Regions from separate parts of the Homo sapiens genome. Here region 1 is linked to region 2. The links are contacts of gene promoters, found by promoter capture Hi-C in blood cells and fetal thymus (Javierre and others, 2016). All regions are on one chromosome and are shown on one strand. Each heading gives the region's core, a stretch centred on a gene start or on the middle of the fragment in contact. The rest is flanking DNA. Distances are from core to core; before and after follow the strand shown.

Region 1 (3,754 bases), core at 1,128-3,627, 230 kb after region 2:
ATTTAAGAGAAAATAATACAAGCTTGAAAAGCAGTAAATATGTAAAGAGAAAATTTGTCAACTGATATTGGAAGATCTGACCTAGGTCACACATAAATCTTCCAGACAAGAGCTGCAGGGCAAGCCATAATTTCAGAGAGTAAAAGAGAAAATGAAAGCTATAGCTGGTGTCTTCTCTAAGTTACATAGGTAGATTCATTTTAGTTTTCTGATTGTGCCTCTGAATATAATGTAAAAGGGGCTGGTAGCAAGATCTGTTTTACCACTTATGTAAAAAGCTCCTCTACAGAGAGCAAAGCATAAAGTGAGACTTCCAAAATTGCTTTTTATCACCAGAGCCATTGGCTAAATAGTTGAGGACCCACAAGCAAACTTCTACATTGGCAATTTCCTTTCTAGCATCATTTTTCACAGTCATAAGTCATGTTATAAGAATTTTCTAATTGCTAATGATGGTCCTTGTAAGGAAATATATGATAAATGTTACTATAATAATACCAAGACCTAACTGGTACTTGTGGCTGCCTTCTATGAAGTCATTCTTCCCCATTTAAACACATAAGAGTCTGCCTTACATCAGAATGAGACGTAACTATCCCCTGTTAGTGTGGTTTTAAATCTTGAATCTAACAGCTAATGAAAGAAAAAAAAAAATCTATGCCCAGAAAAGGGAAGAGGTTCATCTATCAAAATGCAACTAGTTCTAGAGACTGATTAACAAAGTGTGTGACTGGAACAATTACTGTTCTCTCATTGTCCCAAAGTACTAGTTAGACATAGAAAACACTCAACACACGCAAAATGTATAAGCAGGAATGAGGGCTTGGACAAGTTAGTTATAAACAGCATTTCATATGTTGTGAGGTGCAGGCAGTACATCAGCCCTAACAATATTATTGCGTTCCTCTGAACTCTGCTCTCACAGCTAAGCATTTGGAAGGCAGACCCAGAATAAAGATAGGCATTCACAAAGCCAACATTTTATATTGAGGACCCTTGGTTCCACTTTTAATGTGCTATAAACTAGGGGCTTCACTTTTTCATGAACTGTGTGCAAAAGCAGAGGCAATGACTGGAGGTTGACTGTTTGGATCTGTTTTATGGTTGCTGTGCCTATACAGTAATGTGATCTTGAAAAAGGTAAACAACAAAGAGTTTAGCAGTGAAAAATATGCCTAATATAAATACAGCCGAGTACATGGCAGTTCAGAATTTTAAAAATATGACTGTGGCATTAAATTTTCTGGTGGAATTAACAGAGGAACATAATACAGCCTTTATGGCAATATATCTGAGACAGAAAAAGGAGATAATACATCTAACTCTATGGTCTATGTGGCATTCATATAAAGAAAAGCACAGTAGCTTTATTTAATTGAGAAAATGAATCAATTACAATGATGTTGCATCATCAAATTCTTGTGAAATAGAAGATATAAGTCACTGCATTGTGTAACTGTTAAAAAGTAATTGAGTATCTTAAGCATTTTGAATCAATTTCAGGTACTGGCACTGTTACCTTAATACAAAATTTATGAAGATGATTTCATATAATATGTTGCTATCAAAACTGTATAATAAAACCTGATAACGTCTCTCTTTAAAAACCTGGGCAAAACAGTATAGTTATAAGATTATAAAAAAAGACTTTGATATTGCTGTTTTTCTCTTTCTTTTAATGAAGAGCAAGCATAAATAGTACAGTTTTAAGTTGACTTAGACTAAGCTTTTAACCTGCAAAATAGGGCAAACTAGAGACTTTAAGACCTCAGTTCATGAGGAAGTTTCCTCCCCTCAGTTAATCTGATTCACACAACTCATATGTTTCTGGGGACAGTGTTTCATAATCCATTTCTGAATTCATTTCAAAACCTCTCACTTAGAATGTTTGCTGCATGTTCTCCTCAGAGAATGTTGTCATCCCCCTGACTCTTGGAAATTTGTGAAACACATTCTCTTTGATGTCAGAAATGGATTTCTGATTCTTTATTCATTACAAATAACTCCGTTGTTGAAGCAGATATATCTTACTAGGAATGTAGGGGTGGGGGGAGTATCAGTGTGTGCTTGAAAAAAAAATAAAAGCAAACTCCATAGATATCTCATGTCATAGGAGAGGTTATCCAGGCTTTTCAGTATTTTTTTAAAGGTAGTTTGGCTTGTTACTGAAATTCTTAACCACTTCCGGGTGGTGGTTACAGCTCCGCCTTCCCTTGTAATGTAAATCTTTACCTGCAGAATCTTGTCTGGAAATACTCATGGACTGGAGAAACCAGAAGAAGCAGTAATTCAGGACAACATCAAGCAGGGACTATCAACATAGACTAAGCCAGTCAACCTGGGACAGAGGTTTCTGAAAGTAGTGATTGGGGAGGAAGTGATGAAAAGCCAATAAGAGCAATGAGTGGGCGCCGTGTTCATTTGACAAATATATGGGAAAACACTTTTTAAAACACTCAGGCAGTAGGAAGAAGGGTGTGCTGATCAGCCACATGGATGCAAAAGAAATGCATAAACATAGCTGCAGCTCTTGAGAAACTCACAGTCTAGGTGAGAGGAACCAACATGTCAAAATGGATAATTTATCAACAATACCATACCAAGTATAAATGTATACAAATACAGTTGTTTTCAAATAACTCTATGATCATAGGCAAGTGTAATACAGATGCTGGAAGGAAAGGAGCTCTGGAGGAGCCCCAGCACCACCACACCCTGGCGCTGAGGCCTCAGGCCCGGACACTGTCCTCTGATAGGCCCAGCTTTCCCATCATAGAATAAAGATGATCATCCCTGCCAAACTCAGGGTGGTTGTACAGATCAAATGAGTTTGTATATGGGAAAGAATTTTTTAAAACACCTTTAAAAACATATAAGGGATTATTACTAGTTTCCCTGTATTTTACCGGCTGGTTGGAGCCCAGTTATCTCAGAAAACAGTTGACCCATCAGTATTTGGTTCCTGAAAAGTTCTCTGTTAGAAAATGTAGTACCTGGAGTTTCATTTTCATTGAGTTTATAATAACTGTAAGCTTTATTTTTCCTGGATGGGGAGGCACTGAAGTGTTTAGTACTTTAATGACTAAGTGGATGTTTTATTAATTTTTATGTCACGTTTTAGTAGCTTTGTAAGAAATGCAGTTTATCAGTGTTAAATGTGTGAGCAGCCTGCCTTCAGAATGTTGATCAGAAATGCGCTCTTACTGGACTCTGCATTTATTCCCTAAAAATCAGTGTGAAACTTCCATGAATTTGATTTTCCCAGAGAGCATTGCTGCCCTGGAAACAGGCAGAAGGAACTTTGGAAAAGGTGGAGTTGTTACCCCACTCCTAAGTTAGGTGCAAATACTTCAACTACATAATTAAAGTTTTCCTCACAAAATAGGGGATTGTGAGCAGACACTGGCAGGAATCCAAAATTCTAATTTCTGACTATGATTTAATTTCAATTTTAAATAAATCGGTTTTTAATTTAAAAAGAGTGAGCTTCGTAACATTAGCAATGATTGCAACATTAAGCCCAGTGTTCACAATCTAGCAATATAAAACATTATTTATATCTGAATCGTAAACAGCCTTTTGAAATGGATTATGGTTTTTCTCCCTATTCTAATACAACCTGGAGGGTACTAAAAAGTGTTGTGTGAAATTAACATTCTGCTGACTTTCGCCTATAAATGAGAAGCGAGCTATTAACATTTGTGTATTTTCATTATGTAAATTGTGTTAACACATGCCCACAAATTGCCACCAG
Region 2 (3,956 bases), core at 1,257-3,756:
GGCTTTTCCACTGTTTTAGCTGGGGATAAGAACAACTCAATTCAAAGGATCCACTTTCACAACCACAACCCCCAGCTTCAACATTTTGCAAGCAACAGGATCAAGAGTCCTGTGGCAGTGGGGCCAGCAATGGCATGCTCGCCAGACTAGTTCCTGTTGGTCTTATCTATGTCTTTGCTGTTCGGACTCTCCTCGTTCCTTCCCATTTTCTGAGCCTGGTTCTCTAGACTTCTTGTTTACTATTTGGGCTACCTAATTTTCCTCCAATGAATCCCCTTTCTGCTCAAAACAAAAGAAAATCCAAGACAACAACACACTGAAGTTTCATTGTTTTGTTTTTTATCTATAAAGTTAATATAAAAAATTTGAACTTACAGTTGGACATGGTGGCTTCTGTAATCCCAACGACTCAAGAGGCTGAAGTGAGAGACTGGCTTGAGTTCTGGACCAGCTTAAGCAACATAGTGAGAACCCACGCCTAAAAAATAAGTAAAATAAAAAGTTAAAAAAAGTTTGAACTTATGCTTAGTAATAAAGCATAAGTTATTTTTGTTTTTTTTGTTTTTTTTTGAGACGGAGTCTCGCTCTGTCGCTCAGGCTGGAGTGCAGTGGCACGATCTCAGCTCACTGCAACCTCTGCCTCCTGGGTTTAAGTGATTCTCCTGCCTCAGCCTCCCGAGTAGCTGGGACTACAGGCATGTGCCACCACGCCCGGCTAATTTTTCTATTTTTAGCAGACACAGGGTTTCGCCATGTTGGCCAGGCTGGTCTCGGACTCCTGACCTCAGATGATCCACTGGCCTCGGCCTCCCAAAGTGCTGGGATTACAGGCGTGAGCCACCGTGCCCGGCCTAAAGCATAAGTTTTAACCAACTTTATATGTTGGGGACCTTCAACAGATTTCGTTTGAAAAAGGACTCCACTCTTTTTCAAAATTTAATTTGGTCAGGTGCAGAAGCTCACACCTGTAATCCCACCACTTTGGGAGGCCGAGGCGGGCGGATCACTTGAGCCCAAGTGTTCAAGACCAGCCTGGGCAACATGGCAAAATTCCACCTCTACAAAAAATACCAAAAAAAGCAGCCGAGTGTAGGTGGCACACACCTGCAGTCCCAGCTACTTGGGAGGCTGAGGGTGGGAGGATCTCTTGAGCCCAGGAGGCAGAAGTTGCAGTGAGCCGAGATCGAGCAGCTGCACTCCAGCCTAGACAACAGTGAGATCCTTTCTAAAAAAAAGAAAAGAAAAAGAAATTCTATAAAGTTCAAGTTCTATAAGGTAAAGTTCAACTTCAAATTCTGTAAGGTAAAGTTCAAGATTCGGCATATGTTGGTGGGTGCTCAATGTTCAATAAAAACTGGGGAATAGGCCTGGTGCAGTGGCTCACGCCTGTAATCCCAGCACTTTGGGAGGCCGAGGCAGGTGGATCACGAGGTCATGAGTTTGAGACCAGCCTGGCCAACATGGTGAAACCCCGTCTCTATTAAAAATACAAAAATTAGCCAGGCGTGGTGGTGCACGCCTGTAATCCCAGCCACTCGGGAGGCTGAGGCAGGAAAATCACTTGAACCTGGGAGGCAGAGGTTGCAGTGAGCTGAGATTGCACCACTGCACTCCAGCCTGGGCAACAGAGTGAGACTCCGTCTCAAAAAAACAAAACAAAACAAAACAAAAAACTGGGGAATATAAAATTTCGCCATACTATCCTACATCCCCCTTGAGTTTTTAGCAACGATAGTAATTGTTATATGATGCTTAACGCGTAATTACTGTACCTCATTTACATAAGGTGGTTTCAGACACATCATCTTGTTTATGTATGGCCTCTCCAAACAAAATGAGTTTAGGACAAAAGAGGAAATCCTTTTCTAAAAGCAGTTTTGTCCGTAAGTTACTGCCTCAAGAGGCCGCAAAGTTTGAGCAAAGCTTTTCCGAAAGTAATGGATTGGTAATGGGTGACTGAGGTCCACAAAGCTCGATAAGAGGCTCCTGGTCCGTCTACCAGGTTCTTAGAGGGAGGTGCCTTTGTGTGTTCGGACGCTGCACTGAGACACGTGAGGTTTTTAAATAAACTTTTGATTTTGAAATCTCTGGGACTAATTTTAAACAGTGAACCCGACAGCGAGGACCTACACACAAAAGTGCTCCCGGCCTTACCAAACAACGCAGACCCGGGGTCACGCCTCGTCCTGTTTCAACAACAACACCCAAGGGCTTCCCTGGAGCCCAGGGCGTGGGAGGGAGACTTGGGTTTGAGTTCTGCACCTTGCGGAGGTGGTTAGTTATTTAATTGTCTTCCACCTGAATTTTCCTCAGGCCCAAATTGATGAGACCTCCCCGAATCCCTCCCCTGCCCGAGTTACTAATGACGGCGTGAGGTCACACCTGGCCACTCAAAACCAGCTCCTTGACGCAGGTGACCCTCCGCCTCGCGCAGCTCACGCTTCCCATCCCCCGGACTCCACCCCCAGCGGGAGGCCACGGGGCCGCTGTGCGCACGCGCCGCCGCACACCGGGGGCTCTCGGGCACCCGCGCGGCGCCGGTTGGCCTTCCCGGCGCTCGCCCGGGGGCGCGCTTGCGCGCCAGCGGCTGCGGACACCAGCCTGCGTCCCCGGCGCGGCGGGCCATGGAGGCCCTGAGGAGGGCCCACGAGGTCGCGCTCCGCCTGCTGCTGTGTAGGCCGTGGGCCTCGCGCGCCGCCGCCCGCCCCAAGCCCAGCGCCTCGGAGGTGCTGACGCGGCATCTGCTGCAGCGGCGCCTGCCGCACTGGACCTCCTTCTGCGTGCCCTACAGCGCCGTCCGCAACGACCAGTTCGGCCTCTCGCACTTCAACTGGCCGGTGCAGGGCGCCAACTACCACGTCCTGCGCACCGGCTGCTTCCCCTTCATCAAGTACCACTGCTCCAAGGCTCCCTGGCAGGACCTGGCCCGGCAGAACCGCTTCTTCACGGCGCTCAAGGTCGTCAACCTCGGTGAGTGGCGACTGCCGCGCCCACGCGGTGAAGCCCGCCCGGCCGGGACGGCCCCTCAGCCACCGAGCACGTGACGAACGCTCGCAGGCCGGTAGAGTCCCGCGGGAGTCAGCTCTGCCTCCCGGCGCCGGCTTCGCCTGGGGTCCTTTGTACTCCTCGCCCAGGGGGTCCCCAGCTTGCTGAGCTCCTGGCACCCGAAGCCGTTCGCCTGCTGCGGGCGCGTCCTCGGGCCTAGGGAGGGGCGGGTCGCCCTCCTGTCCTGCCCATGTTAACCAGAGTAGACCCCTGGCCTGGGCAGTAAGCCAGGGGGCGTCAGGAAACGCCCCCTAGAAAGTGGCTCTGAAGTTGACATCCGTCCTACTGCATGGCAGGACTCATTCCCGTGAACATCACTTTGCAGCTGCGTTTATGTTGCAATAACTGGAACTACTCTTTTAAGTTTCTTTTGTTTTCTTTGTATGAATTCCCGGCAAGTTCGTTTTACTAAAAGCACCAAAGGTTTTCACCAGACATAACAGCTTCCTGAGGTGCTAGGCCTAAAAGATTTTTAAAGATCTTTAATATTTGTATATTTTCATGGAGACGCCCTGAGGATGTTTACTGTCACTAGGTGTTTATTTTCTTTTGGTTTAATGACAGAAGAGGGAGGTACGAACATGGACATGGGTGTATCTTTTATAGGTCAGGGGAAAACAGAAGGCCTCAAGATGTTTTGAACTTACTAATAGCTGGCATAAAATCAATCTAGATTTCAGTGATTCAAAATCTAGCCATGGAGCTGAATGAACCATGTTACCCAGCCAGGTTTTTAAAGCCAGGATTAAAACTAAACCCTGCGCAGCCGTACTACTAATACTATTACATAATCTGATCGTCCATTAAGGTTAAAAATAGTCTGTGTATTTGTGCTTATAATAACACATATGTCAGTCGTGGGCTTTTTGAGCCGTTACTCCACTGGACTGTCCTGTAAGGAGATAATTGTT

What was found. The method cuts DNA at HindIII sites, captures the fragments that hold promoters and counts their contacts. A CHiCAGO score of 5 or more calls a contact.
Region 1: a contact is called between a fragment that was not itself captured here and the fragment with the promoter of C15orf61 in region 2, in 1 of 17 cell types (naive CD4 T cells). The highest score is 6.4, in naive CD4 T cells.

The regions. Positions count from the first base shown.
Region 1 is chr15:67,744,388-67,748,141 of GRCh38, forward strand. All of the region lies in intron 17 of MAP2K5 (mitogen-activated protein kinase kinase 5), which reads left to right. Among named protein-coding and RNA genes, the nearest start is that of SKOR1, 79 kb to the right of the region's middle. The HindIII fragment of the contact is 1,306 bases long and covers 1,725-3,030 here.
Region 2 is chr15:67,518,625-67,522,580 of GRCh38, forward strand. It overlaps C15orf61 (chromosome 15 open reading frame 61), which reads left to right and starts at 2,507. Exons shown (of 2, transcript NM_001143936.2): 1 at 2,507-2,970. The coding sequence starts at 2,625. It overlaps IQCH-AS1 (IQCH antisense RNA 1), which reads right to left and starts at 3,220. Exons shown (of 6, transcript NR_040052.1): 1 at 2,895-3,220; 2 at 376-478. RefSeq lists enhancers at 2,094-2,173, 2,814-2,933 and a silencer at 2,354-2,703. The HindIII fragment of the contact is 4,154 bases long and covers 1,922-3,956 here.